2 separate regions of the Homo sapiens genome follow, and region 2 is linked to region 1. Evidence: promoter capture Hi-C in human tissues and cell types (Jung and others, 2019). All regions are on one chromosome and are shown on one strand. Each heading gives the region's core, a stretch centred on a gene start or on the middle of the fragment in contact. The rest is flanking DNA. Distances are from core to core; before and after follow the strand shown. Region 1 holds the start of TMEM45B (transmembrane protein 45B). Region 2 has its middle 9.1 kb from the start of APLP2.

The links. The method cuts DNA at HindIII sites, captures the fragments that hold promoters and counts their contacts. A contact is called where the count stands out against the background at its distance.
Region 2: a fragment that was not itself captured here is called in contact with the fragment with the promoter of TMEM45B in region 1 in 1 of the 25 tissues and cell types used here (H1 embryonic stem cells).

What each region holds. Positions count from the first base shown.
Region 1 is chr11:129,814,375-129,819,787 of GRCh38, reverse strand. It overlaps TMEM45B (transmembrane protein 45B), which reads right to left and starts at 3,940. Exons shown (of 6, transcript NM_138788.5): 1 at 3,890-3,940. It overlaps LOC124902793 (a long non-coding RNA gene), which reads left to right and starts at 5,101. Exons shown (of 2, transcript XR_007062952.1): 1 at 5,101-5,413. The HindIII fragment of the contact is 7,942 bases long and covers 2,423-5,413 here.
Region 2 is chr11:130,058,214-130,063,403 of GRCh38, reverse strand. No RefSeq gene overlaps it. Among named protein-coding and RNA genes, the nearest start is that of APLP2, 9.1 kb to the left of the region's middle. The HindIII fragment of the contact is 6,224 bases long and covers 1-5,190 here.

The DNA.
Region 1 (5,413 bases), core at 2,691-5,190:
GGTCAGGAGTTCAAGACCAGCCTGACCAACATGGTGAAACCCCGTCTCTACTAAAAATACAAAAATTAGCTGGGCGTGGTGGTGCACGTCTGTAATCCCAGCTACTTGGAGGCTGAGGCAGGAGAATCACTTGAACCCAGGAAGCGGAGGTTGCAGTGAGCCGAGATTGTGCCACTGAGAGAGACTCTGAGTCAAAAGAAAGAAAGAGATGAGACAGAGAGAGAGAGAGAGAAAAGAAAAGAAGAGAGAAAAGAAAAGAAAAGAAAAGACAAGACAAGACTCTTCTGGAGCATGCCTCTGCCCGTCTTTCTGCTGCAACTTGCGGAAGTGAGTATGAAAGCTCCATGCTAAGGAGGGTGGTGCGGGAAGACACAAGGAGCCTGTCTCAGATGACGTTCATATCGGAACCCCTTTCCCAGCCCCAGCCTTCTCACCTCCAGACTTCTCGTTCTCTGAGAAAAACAAACTCCTTACTTGTTTAAGCCGCTGTAGTAGGGTTTTCTGTTCTTGTAGCTGAATGAACGTCTAATGACATCTCACACTTTTTCAGATGTTTATCTGACATACCACATTTTATGTATGCCTGCTATGGGCACTGTGCTAGGAATAAGACAAGTAAAGCTCTCTTTGTCATGGAACCAGGAGCACAGTTAGAACAGAAGTTAGAACTTTAGCCACTATAATAACGGCTACAGTTATAATAACAGTTAGAACAGAAGGTCCATAGGCATTTGAGGCTGGGATTCAAGGAGGTTATGTTTGCTGTCACAGACCTCAAACCAAAAGAGTACATCAAAATAAGTCACTGGATTTATACATTTGGCAAATTCTCAAGGGACCACATGACAGAAGGAGCAAAAATCTGAACATTGTTTTTAGCTGTAATTCTCCAATGAAGTAGATTTGGGGAAGCAACATGAGGTACTTGCTTTATTTTTCTTAAATCCGGTTTTCTTCCTTGAAAAACCACAAGATTGGACTTGACAATCTTTAAGGTTATACTCAGCTCTAAGATATTTTTGTAATTATATGGAACAAAGATGGGCATGAAATATACCAAACGAGAGAGTTTCTAAATTTAGATTCTGATAATTCAAGTCAGAAAACATATTAAGTGTTCGGGAAAAACAAATCACAATCTTCCATCACAAAATTCAACAAGAACAACAAAAACCACTCCAGAGGCAGCTGTGGTATTCTGGAAGGAATGTTGGTTTGAGTTCTGGCTCTGCCATTTAATTACTGGCTAACCCTGGACCACATACACAATATCTCTGTTTCCATCTCCTCATTTTTGAAATACGGATTCTAATCTGACCTGAACAGTGCTGTTTACAAACATCGCCTTGTGCTCTATAAAGCCCCATTATGATTTCAACAACCAGCAAGATAATGGCTTATGATATCTAAGTCCTGGCAAGGAGAATGCGGGTGTGTACCTTGCTATATTCAGTTGAACTCTGCATCACATACAGAAGGCTGATAGACCTTTTAGCTTTCCTTTTTCCTCCAGTAGTGTAGCTTGTGGCCATTTAAGTTTTACACAAGAGAATAGAAAAGAGAGATAAAATTTGCTAAAATTCAAATAGTCTATTTGTGTTTGTTTCTAGCCTCAGTGAAGGTTTTGGGGAGAGGGGTAGCTGGTTAAAAGAGTAGAAGCTTAAGAGTTCAAAGAAAGTGTGAGGAGGACAGCACTCACCTGTGGCCTCTAATTGTTCATATTCAGTATGGTCTCATACTGGGAATAATCTAGTGTTTGTCTTATGATCTTTCTATAGAAACAAATATGGAATGTGTCTATAAGTACCATTAGTTGATGACACACTAGTGACTTTAATTCTCTTACAGTAAAAAGTTTTGCAATAGCAAGGACTTTGGCTAGGGGAGTGACTCTATGTGTGGTGAAACTGTCCTCACCCATTTTTCATTTGAGGAAAAGAGATAATCTTTTGATTACACCCAACACAGGTAACATCTGTACTTTGAACAGTTAAGTATAGCAGCTGATGTTTAACTGCAGGTAGGGGGGAGATGAGAAACAGAAATAACTGGTGCCAAATGTGAGATTCAATTACCTCGACCATCACAACCAACATCAACCAGAAGGGTGTGGGAGGAACTCATGGAATAAATGGGAACAGGTGTGGCCTGAGGATAAGTAAGTGGGGGCACTGTTTCCATCTTCATGAAGATGTGAGAGGAAATCAAAGCTCTTTAAAAAGAAGGAAATGGAATGCTTGGCTCCTGTAATATCAGAACAAATAATGCACAGCCAGAGGTCATGCCTCACCTTCTGCTTATCTCAGTCACCTCCACTTGTAAAATCAGTGGGCCATATTCAATAAAACCTTCATATCAGTTCCATATCTTTTCCCAGAAACCCCAGGAACAGAGGGAGCCAATATCCTTATTAAACCAAGAAGCTCACTGTCACAAAGAGCTAAGTCTGACGCCCCTGGGCCCCTACCTAACCACGTGTCCTGATTCTTTCCATAACTTCCCACTGCACAACATCCAGGTTATACTGAAGATATTACACATCTGGTTAAAAACAGTACACGTCTCTCATGAACAATAAGCCATCCTTTCTATTAAAATGAGTGTAAAATTGCAGGTAAAATGCTGTAGGCAGGCCTGTTTGGAAGGCTATGCGACCCTAGGAGACAAAAAGGTGCAGGAGGAGGAAAAGGGCAGACACCGCAGAAAGCGGTCGAAGAGAACGTGAAAGAAGTGGCCATTTCTAGCTGGGCGCGGTGGTTCACGCCTGTAATCCCAGCACTTTGGGAGGCTGAGGCGGGTGGATCATGAGGTCAGGAGATCGAGACCATCCTGGCTAACACGGTGAAACCCCGTCTCTACCAAAAAAAAAAAAAATACAAAAAATTAGCCGGGCGTGGTGGCGGGCGCCAGTAGTCCTAGCTACTCGGGAGGCTGAGGCAGGAGAATGGTGTGAACCCGGGAGGTGGAGCTTGCAGTGATCCGAGATTGCGCCACTGCACTCCAGCCTGGGCGACAGAGCGAGACTCCGTCTCAAAAAAAAAAAAAAAAAAAAAAAGAAGTGGCCATTTCTGCAACTTTTAGGAGAGCTACCTGCCCTCAAATTTTGAAAGGGTTTCTATTTCTTAAAGTGCTACGTTTCCCTGGCTGAAACTCACATCTTTCTTCCCTCTAGGGCTGGATCAAAGCTTCAGAGGTTGTTTCTCTGGCCCTAGACAGGGCCACCCCCGCAAATTTCTCCCCCACTGCGCCTGACATCCGCTTCCATCCATGGCTCCATTAACGGAAGCTAAGCACTGGCTCGGGGGACTTTATCCACCGCCCGGTGTTATTAGATTCCAGGCTTCCTGGCCTCAGGAAAGGATCTGGCTCGTGTATTTGTGTATCGCAGCTAACAAGGAAAGGCAGTCGGTACCAGTGCCCAGAGCTATGTGAGCTGTGACTGGTCACAGCCCAGGAGCCAGATGGCATCCCCGGGGGCGCGCGTCCCCGGACTCACCGGGCAGACGGAGGCCCGGGGCTTCACACCTTCCCCTCACCGGGCAACGCGGCAGACCTGACTCGCGGGGGACTGAGCAATATTCGTTCCAGGGCCGCGGCCAGCCGGACAGAGGCACTCGGGGGCGGTGGGAGTAGTGTGCGCACCGGTTCCGCAGCCCGGAGGGGGCCCCAGCTGGGCTTCCGCGACACCAGGGCCCTCCATCCCCTCCCGTCCTCCCCTAGCGCAGCCTTCACCCCTGTCCCAGAGCCCCTCCCTGTCCGCGTCCCCTCCCCCGCAGGTCCCCTGCGAGTCGGAACCTCCTCTCCATCACAGCCCCGCTCCTTGGCGGGGCCCCCTCTCCCTTCGAGCCCTCCTCCAGGTTCGAGCCCCCTGCGGGTACGGACGTCTGACCTGTGCCCAGCGCCTCGCAGCCGTCTGCAGCCCGCGCCGCGCGCCAAGTGCGTCCGCCCAGAAGCAGGTGCAGCTCCAGGCCCGCCCCGCCCCGCTGCGCCCCGCCCCGCTCCACTCCGCCAGGCCTGGCAGCCGCCAGCCCCTTTCCACCCTTGACCGCCCTTCCCGGTCCCGGCCAGCGTGCGGGGCATCTGTCGTCAGGTCCGCACTTCCTCCAGGCCTTTGACTTTCCCGTGGAGATGTCTCTGGCCTCAGGAACTCCCTAAGCTGTGTGCTTCAGGAGAGGCTGGTTCCTGAGTCACCCAAGAGGACTGCAACCAACCTGGACCTCCTGAGATGCAAAGAGATCGCAGGGCCTGGGAGGCGGCGAGGACCCTGAGAACAGGCTGTGGCTCCGAAGAGTGTTTGTTACCAAGCCAGGCAACCACTGCGAACACACCGCAGAAACAGCCACGGATCACCGTCCAGCAAAGGAAGAAGGTGCCAACGGTCCATCAGGGACCACAACCCAGTTTTTTTAGTTTAAGTTTGGTGGCTAAGTTTGAGTGTCACATAGTTCATTCATTCCTTCATTCATTCAACAAATCTGCCATGTTCCCATCTGATAACAGATCTGACAGGTGGGCACTGTTCTAGGTGCTGGCGATAGAGCTAAGAAGGAAACAAAGTTCCTGTCCCGGAGAAGGGGGCTACCTGCTGAGGAGAGCATGACTTTCTTTGTGGTATTGTGCTGTGGCAGCAGGGTCCTCTTCTGTAAGCTACTGAGAGGTGAAACCCGCTGGGCTTCTGGGTCGGATGGGGACTTGGAGAACTTTTCTGTCTAGCTAAAGGATTGTAAAAGCATCAATCTGCACTCTGTGTCTAGCTAAAGGTTTGTAAACACACCAATCAGCACTCTGTAAAAATGCACCAATCAGTGCTCTGTGTCCAGCTAATTGGTGGGGACTTGGAGAACTTTTCTCTCTAGCCAAAGGATTGTAAATGCACCAATCAATGCTCTATGTCTAGCTAAAGGTTTGTAAACACATCAATCAGCACTCTGTAAAAACGGACCAATCAGCACTCTGTAAAATGGACCAATCAGCACTCTGTAAAATGGACCAATCAGCGCTCTGTAAAATGGACCAATCAGGAGGATGTGGGCAGGACCAATCAGGAGGATGTGGGCGGGGCCAATGAGGGAATAAAAGCTGGCCATCCGAGCCAGCGGCAGCTGCGTTTGGGTCCCCTTCGATGGTGTTGGGGTTTTGTTGTTTCGCTCTTTGCAATAAATTTTGCTGTTGCTCACCTTTTAGGTCCACACTACCTTTATGAGCTTTAACACTCACAGTGAAGGTCTGCAGGTTCACTCCTGTAAACCAGCGAGACCAGGAAGCCACCACAAGAAACAACTCTGGAGCCGCCACCTTTAAGAGCCATAACACTCACTGTGAAGGTCTGTGGCTTCACTCCTGAAGTCAGCGACACCACGAACCCACAGGGAGGAGCAAACAACTCCAGACGCACCACTTTTAAGAGGTGTAA
Region 2 (5,190 bases), core at 920-3,419, 250 kb before region 1:
CTTGTCATTCCTTTTCCTTACATTTTCAGGCTGTGTGATAGTCTGTAAAGTCACATGCTTAATAATAAACAGAAGAGTCCTTATAAAAATGTATTTAGCTGTTGCATCTTTCTCTACTACTTAGAACACTTAAAAAAAATCAGCCTCAGGTTGAATTTTTTTTTTCTTCCCTTTTGTTTTGTTTTGTTTTGTTTTGTTTTGTTTTGTTTTGTTTTGTTTTGTTTTTGAGACAGGGTCTCACTCTGTTACCCAGGCTGGAGTGCAGTGGCACAATCATGGCTCACTGCAGCCTCTATTTTAGCAGGCTAAGGTGATCTTCCCACTTCAGTCTCCCAGGTAGCTGGGACTACAGGCATGTGCCACCATAGCCTGCTAATTTTTATATTTTTTGTAGAGAAGGGATTTTGCCATGTTGCCCAGGCTGGTCTCAAACTCCTGGGCTCAAGTGATCCACTGGCCTCGGCCTCCCAAAGTGCTAGGATTACAGGTGTAAGCCACCACACCAGCGCTTTTTTTTTTTTTTAACTTATTAGAGATGAGGTCTCACTATGTTGCCCAGGCTGGAGTGCTGTGGCTATCACTGGCATGATCATGACACAATACAGCCTCGAACTCCTTGGACTTCAGGGATCCTCCCGCTTCAGTCTCCTGAGTAGCTGGGATTACAGGCGCGTACCATCACACCCAGCTCTTTAGGGTGCTTCTGTGTTCTGTTTGCCGCTGATGCTGAGCAGGTGGAATCACTTCTCAGAGGGAAGCAATGCAGTTGCTTGAGGCAGAACAGGTTTAACCTTATATAATACACACGTTTACCACATTAATAGGTAATTAAGATTTAAATCGTTTATAAAGCCTTTCTTCTACCTCCTACTGATCTAGACTAAGGGTCTGCTTTTATCAAATAAGTCAAGTAGACAAAAATATCAAGTATTTAAAATCAATACAGGGTCCCCAGATTCGATGCCAAAGCAGGGCCTTGATATGGAAAAGAATCTGGTCCTAGAGTATGTTTTGTTTTCAAAGACAATATTAATTTAACTGATTACAATCCGGGTATGTGGGCATGTCTAAAATTAAATGCTACAAAAAAATCTTTAAACACCTTATGCGTATACTAAGTTTTGTTTTGGTGGTAAACTGGTTTACAGGCTTGAAAACAGGTTTTGCAAGTCCTAAAACTTACATAAGTCAGGTGCTCTCTTGAAGAGAAACAGTACGAGATTGCTTGGGGTCCTACCACAGCCTCGGAAGAAACTGGGGCAAAAGAGTGGCCTGGAAGCTTGCTCTGCATTAGCTCTGCAGAAAAACCACCTCTGGCTGCAAATCCCTCCTGCAGGAACTGTCCTCATATATAGCCCTGCCTAGTTAGCTTCCTTCATTTATTATTGTTCCTAAGTCTTATTTGTTTTTTGTTTTTTGAGACAGAGTTTTTCTTTGTTGCCCAGGCTGGAGTGCAGTGGCGCGATCTCGGCTCGCCGCAAGCCTCCCGGGTTCAAGCAGTTCTCCTTCCCCAGCCTCCCGAGTAGCTGAGATTACAGGCGCCTGCCATCATGCCTGGCTGATTTTTTATATTTTTGTAGAGATGGGGTTTCACCATGTTACCCGAGCTGGTCTCAAACTCCTGAGCTCAGGCAATCTGCCCATCTCAGCCTCCCAAAGTGCTGGAATTACAGGTGTGAGCCACCGCACCGCCCAGCCCTTAACCCTTATTTGAAAGAAACCATCTCATTCCCTGTACTTCAGTCGGTTTGTTCTCCCTCTGTGTTGTGGCTATTTTCTCATCTACCTGTAGTAATGCTACGTTGTTTGGTATTCTTGTTTGGTCCTTCTTTGAATAATTTCTTCTGCCTTCAGTGCAGAAAATACAAAATAATGGTGAAAAAAACCTCAGCGCTGGGAGCTGCTTATACTAAAAGTTCTTATCGTTGGTGATTTTTACATGGTACTTGCTTTTCAGAAAAGCTGATGTAAAACTGCTTTCTTGACATGCCCCACATCAGAGTTTGAAGGTATTTGTGTCATCTTTCTGCCTGGTGTGGAAGTCATTTACTACAATAGAAGGACAGAGAAGTTCACAGCTCCATTGGCTGGACATTTTGTCTTTTTATTGAACTAATCTTCATCACATAATTAAAGGTGGCTGTCATACCCCATTCTGCACACCCCCACTATCACCCGCAAAGTCTTTTCTTTCTTTCCTTTCTTTCCTTCCTTCCCCTTCCCCTTCCCTTTCCCTTTCCTTCCCCTTCCCCTTCTTCCTTCCTTCCTTCCTTCCTTCCTTCCTTCCTTCCTTCCTTCTTTCCTTCCTTCCTTCCTTCCTTCCTCTCTTTCTTTCTTTTTGACAGAGTCTTGCTCTGTTGCCCAGGCTAGAGTGCAGTGGTGTGATCTGGGCTCACTACAACCTCTGCCTCCCGGGTTCAAGTGATTCTTGTGCCGCAGCCTCCTGAGTAGCTGAGATTATAGCCACGCGCCACCACACCTGGCTAATTTTTGTATTTTTAGTAGAGATGGGGTTTCGCCATGTTGGACGGGTTGGTCTTGAACTCCTGACCTCAAGTGATCTGCCCACCTCGGCCTCCCAAAGTGCTGAGATTTATAGGCGTGAGCCACCAAGCCTGGCCATACAAAGTCTTTTCTTTAATAAACAGATTCACTTCTTTAACCATTTTACTTGTAATACTGTTTCCATTCTTACCATCCTTAGATCTCTGTATACATTCCAATTTACCAATCAGCCTCTAAAAGTATAGAATCCAAAACTGAACACAATATTTCACATACTAAACACAAACTACCCAGAAAATTCATTCTTTTTCTGGACAATGTGTATTTTATTAATAATGTAACCAACATTTCCTGATGAGATATCTACACCAAGTTCATGTAATAATAATTCATTAAAGAGTCAGATGTGGTAGCACTCCTGTAGCCTCAGCTACACAGGAGGCTGGAGTGAGAGGATCGCATGAGCTTAGGAATTTGAGGATTTGAGGCCAGCCTGGGCAACACAGCAGACCCTGTCTCTTAAAAAAAAATTAATTCAATATTTATTTGGCACCTACTATGTTCAATATACTTTGCTTGTGCTTCCTAATCTCAATTTAGTAAAGGCTCTTAGTTCAGCATTTAAAAGTGTTAGGATAACAGGGAAAACTTCTCAAAGGAAAACATGCTTTAACTGAGTTTGGAAAGGTGGGAGCCACCTGGACAAAGAAGGTGGCTGTGGCGAACAGGTGCTCAGCCAGGCAAAGGCATCTGTGTGGGTATTAACATGGAAGTAGCATGATGCCATATAAGAATGACGAGAGAGAAGAGGATTCCTAAGGGACAATGATTTTGTCCTTTAACTTGACAGCTATGGGATATCATCAGCTTTTTAGCAGGCATCTTAGAAAGACTAAGTGGAATAATGGATAAAATGCTTACATGTTTAGCTCAGCATACAGCATATAATAAGGGCTTGGTACAGGACAGTAGGTAGTTCTGGTTGGTTATTTATGGTTGCAGTGCAAGTTTAGGGAAAGAGAAGCTCATATTTGTATGACGCTTTTGAATTTTCAAATTTGTTTTGTGTCCATCATTTCCTTTCATATTTAAAAGAACCATGTAAAACTCACTTATTTCATTTCTAGGAATCCATCCTAGGAAAATAATCCAAATGAGAATAAATTATGGAAAAATGCTTATAAGATGTGTTAAAATTTCAGAAGTCATAGTAGGAATTGCATATGTGGAAAAATTTCTCTTATGCATTTAAAGTCGACTGAAAGAAAATGAACCAACATATTTTTTTCTGGATAATAGGATTATAAGTGATTGTTTTATTCTTTAAAAAATATTCCTATAATGGATATATGTTACGTTTATAACGGAGGGAGTAATCTTTCACTTTTCTTTTGTCTTTCTTGATCTTATCAACAATAACTTAGCCTGGGCAGCAAAGCAAGACCCGTCTCTACTAAAAATAAAAATAACAGCCAGGCACAGTGGTGCACACTCGTAGTCTCAGCTATTTGGGAGGCTGAGGTGGGAGGATCCCTTGAGTCTAGGAGTTCAAGGCTGCAGTGGCACGATGATGCCTGGGTGACAGACAAGAATCTGTCACAACAATAAATAAATAAATAAACAAATAAAACCTTGTTGCCGGGTGCAGTGGCTCACACCTGTAATCCCAGCATTTTGGGAGGCCGAGGCAGGTGGATTGCCTGAGGTCAGGAGTTCGAGACAGGTCTGGCCAACATGGTGAAACCCTGTCCCTACTAAAAATACAAAAAAAATTAGCCAGGCGTGGTGGTGTACACCTGTAATCCTAGCTACTTGGGCAGCTGAGGCAGGGGAATTGCTTGAACCAGGGAGGTGGAGGTTGCAGTGAGCTGTGATCACGCCACTGCACTCCAGCCTGGATGACAGAGTGAGACTCCATCTCAGAAAAAAAAAAAAAAAAAGACAGGGCAGTCATTATTGTCTTCATTTTGTAACAGTAACACTTTTATCGATGACAGTAACTATAACTCTCATTAGCACTCACTACATGCCACGCATTGTCCTAAGCGCCTTAGCAGATATTAACTCATTTAGAATGAATTAATGAGAATTATAGGGAGCACTTGTCTCATCAGGATGTTTTTGGCTGTAAATAATAGAAATGTCTACTCAACCTGATCGAAAGAAAAATAGTGTTTATTGACCCACACAACTGGAAAAGCCTAAAGGGGCAGGGATCAGGCATGGTTTCCGTCAGGACCTCAGCTCACGGCTCTGTGATGCTCTTGCTCCTCCTGGGAAAGCTTCACCTGCAGGCTGATGGCAGATCATTCACAATAGTTGCAGGTCTCATCCTACATCTGCACAGGAAATTATCCAGAAGAAAAAACAGCTTCTCGCCCAGCCTTCCCAACAGGAGTCCTGACATTCTCTGATTGAACAGGGTCACATACTCACCCCTGAGTCAGTAACTAGGGAACGGAGGTAAGAAGACGGGGCGCAAACAAAATGCGCTGGATGCCTTCAGCCAACTGGGACCTCCCAAGGAATTGAGGGTGGGAGGAGTGTGGGAGGGGTGGATAACAAAATCAAATAGGAAGGGGGAGTTGGGGAAAGGGTGTCAAGTGGGCAGTAGACAGTGTTAATGACTATAGTTCCCAACACTCAGTTTAGTTTAGATCTTACTGCCAGGCTAGCCACAAGTTA